2 separate regions of the Homo sapiens genome follow, and region 1 is linked to region 2. The links are contacts of gene promoters, found by promoter capture Hi-C in human tissues and cell types (Jung and others, 2019). All regions are on one chromosome and are shown on one strand. The core of a region is centred on a gene start or on the middle of the fragment in contact, and the rest is flanking DNA. Distances in the headings are between cores, read along the strand shown.

Evidence for each region. The method cuts DNA at HindIII sites, captures the fragments that hold promoters and counts their contacts. A contact is called where the count stands out against the background at its distance.
Region 1: a contact is called between a fragment that was not itself captured here and the fragment with the promoter of SLC15A3 in region 2, in 3 of the 25 tissues and cell types used here (H1 embryonic stem cells, lymphoblastoid cells and mesendoderm cells).

Annotation. Positions count from the first base shown.
Region 1 is chr11:61,092,177-61,094,876 of GRCh38, reverse strand. It overlaps LOC105369325 (a long non-coding RNA gene), which reads left to right and starts at 2,519. Exons shown (of 2, transcript NR_188502.1): 1 at 2,519-2,580. It also overlaps a transcript of CD5 not described here. RefSeq lists an enhancer at 1,956-2,700. The HindIII fragment of the contact is 6,674 bases long and covers 1-2,700 here.
Region 2 is chr11:60,950,745-60,953,474 of GRCh38, reverse strand. SLC15A3 (solute carrier family 15 member 3) reads left to right here and starts at 1,299. Exons shown (of 8, transcript NM_016582.3): 1 at 1,299-2,481. The coding sequence starts at 1,924. RefSeq lists an enhancer at 987-1,126 and silencers at 1,307-1,536, 1,857-2,016. The HindIII fragment of the contact is 25,133 bases long and covers 1-2,730 here.

The sequences.
Region 1 (2,700 bases), core at 115-2,614, 140 kb before region 2:
AGGCTTCCTTCCGATGGCCAACCCACCTCTAATGCTGGCCAGTCTATCTCACACAAAGCTCTAAGTTTTCCTGGTGTCATAGTGACTCCAGAGTCTCCCTTAAATCCCTTTTTGAAATTTTTCAACATAGTTCCTAGTGGGGTAGGCTTACTTTGTGTCTGACCCATGTTTCCTCGAGACAAAACACCATGCTCACACCACAAAACAAAGAACGGGTAAAAAGGGCACACACACACTTTTACAGTTTACGCCAAGCCAGAATCAAAACCAAAATCAGAGTATCAAGAAATCCAAGCCAGGTCAAAACCAAAACCAAAGTATCAAGCAATCCAAGACAAGTCAAAAACAAAAACCAAAGTGCTGGTACAGGCACACTGTGGGTGATCAGGACACGCTTCTACTCAAATGGAGTAGGCAAGTTCCCAAGACCAGTCCTGTCAAGCGATTCAAACCAAGTCAAAACCAAAACCAAAACCAAAGTGCTGATAAAGGCATGCCATGGGTGATTGGGCCATGCTTCCACTCAAATGGAGTGGGCAAGTTCCAAGGACTAGTCTTACCAAGTTTCAGTTGTCCGGACTCCAAGTGCCAGTTCCTTCCCTGTGTTCAGCCACTGCGTTGATCCTCCACAGGGGCCTGCCATGCACTGCTCTGACGAGGCATTCCACTGGGGCAATTGCCTACCTGGGAGCGCTCTGAGGATCCGTGTCGCTCAAGCTGGCCAGAGTTCCCCGCGGGGATGCTCCACAAGGCAGGCCTAAGCTGCCTAAGGGGCTGCCTCAACTGTCCGTTAATCACTTTGCTTCCTGGTCAGGGAACCAAGAAATGTAGCAGGACAAGCCACAGACAAAACCCCTCAGACACCAAGTTAAAGAAGGAAGGGGTTTATTCAGCCGGGAGCATCAGCAAGACTCCTGTCTCAAGAGCCGAGCTCCCTGAGTGAGCAATTCCTGTCCCTTTTAAGGGCTTACAACTCTAAGGGGGTCCGCTTGAAAGGGTCGTGATCGAATGAGCAAGCAGGGGGTACGTGACTGGGGGCTGCATGCACCGGTAATTAGAACAGAACAGGACAGGGATTTTCACAGTGCTTTTCTATACAATGTCTGTAATCTATAGATGACATAACCGATTAGGTCAGGGGTCGATCTTTAACTACCAGGCCCAGGGTGTGGCGCCGAGCTGTCTGCTTGTGGATTTCATTTCTGCCTTTTAGTTTTTACTTCTTCTTTCTTTGGAGGCAGAAATCGGGCATAAGACAATAGGAGGGGTGGTCTCCTCCCTTAGACCCACTTAGACACTCCCCGGTTTCTGCTCACTCAGGGCTGGAGGGTGCTGCATGCTTGAACCTCTTTGGCAGAGGGAAGCTTTGACCCCCACCCCAGGATCAAGGAAAGAGAACTCCTAAGGTAGCTGTGATTGGGGCCACACCCATCCCTCATCCAGCCTTCAGAGGTGCCTTTTCCTCCCGCCAGAGGTGCCCTCAGCCTGGGATGGGGAAACCTCACCCGGCCCCTCCCGGCCAGGCCTGGCCCAGTTCCCTGCCCCCTGCCCCTTGCCCTCACATCCATCCTTCCTGGTCCCTTGACTCTGGAAATCCCAGCCTCTTTCATTCATTCATTCATTCACTCATTCATTTATCAATATTTGTCCCATGCTAAGCCCAGGGATGTGAAGACGAAAGAGACAGACATGGCTCCACCCTTCTTAGCACCAAAGACTCTGCTGGGATGTTTTTTCTTGATGAGTGCTGTTCGTGGGTCACACAGCTGTGTGCAGTAAGCAGCCCTTCACAGCCCCTGTTCCCACACTCAGTGTACATAATTGCAGCCCAAAAGAGCGAGGAAAGTTTTACTAAGCACCTTCCTCTAGCCAGAGGCGTCAGCTCCTTCAGTCTTCCCAATTATCATGGAAGTGGGCACAGCTTTCCATTTCACAGATGAGGAAACTGAGGCTCAGAAGGTAAAGTATTCGGCCCCAGGAGGTCAACGCTGAAGTATGATCCCACGTTTTCCTCACTCTGCCACCCTTGCCACCACTCCCCACCTCCTTACCCAAAGAAAAGAAAACAAACCAAACATTTGGGCTTTGCTTTGATCTCAGAGTCTTCATCACAGTACAACTTCTACTCTTTTTGTTTGTTAGTTTGGTTTTGGAAAACTGAAAGTAGCTCAGGGCCTCGGGTTGCTGTCTTCCAGGCCCCCAGGGCTTGGCACTGCCTCGACCCTAGTGGAGGGGGTCGCTGCCCTCTGAGAACACTGCCCTATAGGCTCCCTCCCTGCTGCCCACCCCCATAAGTTACCCCTGCCCCTTTCACCCCTCCGGGCCTCCAGGTCCAGAAACCTCTGGGCCCCTGTCCCCACTCAGACCTCAGATCCCTGGCGGGAGTTTCCTGTCCCCATCACTGCACTTTCCATGACACAAGAGGAAGTCAGCTGAGCCCAGGCTGGGTTTTCCAGGCAGCGAGGCCCAGTAGAGGCTGAAGGTGGGGGAAGGGGTTGCTGAGCCCCCAGGGCCGGGTGTCAGAACCTCCTCAACCTCTACCGGAGAGGTGCCTGCCGGTGCTGCCGTGGGCCACACCAGGTAATCTGGGGTGGGGTGTGCCTGTGTCTGTCACCCCTCTGGACTCGGTGACTCCTCAGTGCCCCCAGGTGTGCCCTCTTCACTGGGGCAAAGGGGCACTAGGATCTGGGGAAAGGGGAG
Region 2 (2,730 bases), core at 50-2,549:
GGCGACAGAGTGAGACTTCGTCTCAAAACAAACATACAAACAAACAACAACAACAAAAAATCCCTCGCTTTTTTGCTGGTATCTATAGTGCTTTTTTTGCTGGTATCTATAGCTTTTGTGAGACTCAGTTTATTTAGCTTTAGCTTTCCTGATATTATTATTCTTACAAATTTTGCCTTGGGACACTCTTTCCATTCATTGATTCAGGCAATACTTATTGAGCACCTACTATTTGCCAAGCACTGGGAAGCCATTGAGAATAAAACAGTGAAGAGTTAGAAAAGGTCTCTGATCTGATGGAGGGCCTATTCTACTGGTGCTAACTGAACAAGTAATATGTGCTCTGAAGACATTAAAACAAGACAATGTGATGGGGGATGCTGAGAATCCAGTAGGAAACTACTTAGATGGGAAAATCAGGGAAGGTCCCTACAAAGGAGACATATATGCTGAAACCTCAATAAAGAGAAGCAGCCAGCCATGCAAGGATATGGAGGGAGAGCAGTTATGGCAGAGGGGTCAGCAAAGACAAAGGCCCTGAGGCAGGGAGGAGCTTAGCATGGAAGGGGAACCTGGGAGGCCGGCTGGCTGGACTTGAGTGAACATGGGGCTGAGATGAGATCAGAGGAGAGCAGAGGCCAGATCCCCCGGGCTCCTAGGTCAGGGTGGGGCTGGTGCTTAGGAGTTCTGAGGCTGACTCTGATTTAGTCTGAGGTCGGTGTCCCTCTCAATCCCGACTCACTTGTGGTCCTCTATGGCCCGCAGGCTTGTTGAAAGTGCCCCACTTCCTTCCTCACAGCAGCCTCTGTGCAATCCGAATTGCGCTGTGAATTTCCCTGCCACTCAGGAGCCCGGGGCAGGGCTTCACCCCTAGTTCAGTTACCAGGAACCAATCTTTCTCCACCTTCCTGCCCTAGCCCCACTGGGTCTGTCTCTGCATCTGTGAAATGGCTGAGTGTGACCAAATGATGCAGGTAGCCTTTCCACTTCTTTCTACCCGTGGCGCCTCGGGTGGAGGCGTGGAGTTTGATTGGAAGAGGGTAAAGCAAAAGTGGAATCCTGGCGAGAAATGAAACTGAAAGAAAAAATTCCTCCTGGAATTTTTTGGCTCTAAGGAGGCCAGCAGCGGGGGTTTGGGGTAGGAGGCAGAGGTAGAGAAGGAGGGAGGTTTTTAGAAAGCTGACCGGGCAGGAGCCCTGTGACCCAGGCTTTCACTTCTCCTAAACACCCAGTAGCGCCATGTGATGCAGGCAGGGGACTGCGGATAGGGCCTGTGAAAGGGGAAGCGAGGGGAGCCCAGAGTTTCTCAAGAAGCCGAGAGAGGGACAGAGGCTGAGCCTGGGGGGAGGGCTGCAGGGGACTGAGAGGGGAGTGTAGGCAGTGGGGGTGAGGGGGACAGGGAGGAGGTGGAGAAGACGGCAAGGGGCAGCAGGGTGACTGGGGCAGAGGGAGCCCCCACCCCACGCCCAGGGCAGGCCAGGAGTCATAAGGAGAGGGGACAACAGGAAGGGGCGACAAACGGGGAGGGGAAAGGGAGGCGGAGGGGCAGCGAAGTGAAGCAGGGAGGGTCGCAGTGTGAACAAGAGTGCGAGGAAGGGTCAAGGTGGAGGGAGGAGAGGGGAGAGTTAGGGAGAAACAGCTGCAGGAGAGGCGCGGGGAGGAAGCCTTAGGGGTGGGGGAAGGGAGAGGGGAGTTGAGAATTAGGGAGGAGGTGGTAGAGTCCGGGTAGTGAGCGGAGGGACAGGAAGGGTAGGGCAAGAAAGGGAGAGGGGACAGGAGGGAAGGGTGGGCCAAAGCGGTGAGAAAGGAGGGCCAGCCAGTTGGGTGGGGGAGAGGGCCGAGGCCCGGGGGCAGGAGTGCAGGGCTCTGAGGCGGGGAGAGGAGAGGAGAGAAGAGCCGCGGGGGGCCCAGCCCGGAGCCAGGATGCCCGCGCCGCGCGCCCGGGAGCAGCCCCGCGTGCCCGGGGAGCGCCAGCCGCTGCTGCCTCGCGGTGCGCGGGGCCCTCGACGGTGGCGGCGGGCGGCGGGCGCGGCCGTGCTGCTGGTGGAGATGCTGGAGCGCGCCGCCTTCTTCGGCGTCACCGCCAACCTCGTGCTGTACCTCAACAGCACCAACTTCAACTGGACCGGCGAGCAGGCGACGCGCGCCGCGCTGGTATTCCTGGGCGCCTCCTACCTGCTGGCGCCCGTGGGCGGCTGGCTGGCCGACGTGTACCTGGGCCGCTACCGCGCGGTCGCGCTCAGCCTGCTGCTCTACCTGGCCGCCTCGGGCCTGCTGCCCGCCACCGCCTTCCCCGACGGCCGCAGCTCCTTCTGCGGAGAGATGCCCGCGTCGCCGCTGGGACCTGCCTGCCCCTCGGCCGGCTGCCCGCGCTCCTCGCCCAGCCCCTACTGCGCGCCCGTCCTCTACGCGGGCCTGCTGCTACTCGGCCTGGCCGCCAGCTCCGTCCGGAGCAACCTCACCTCCTTCGGTGCCGACCAGGTGAGTGGCAGGAGGCCTGCCCCGGCATACTCCGGCGGGTGTGGAGGGAAGGAGGGCTGGCCCCCAGCGTGACCTGGGACAAACCAGGTCCCCTGCCTGCACTAGTTTCCTGATTTGAAAGAAGAGGGGGGCTAGCCCTTGCAAAACCGATGGCAACCGCAGTGGGAATAACCATGGTTGTTTTTTTGTTTGTTTTATTTTTTGAGACGGAGTTTCACTCTGTCGCCCAGGCTGCAGTGCAATGGCGCG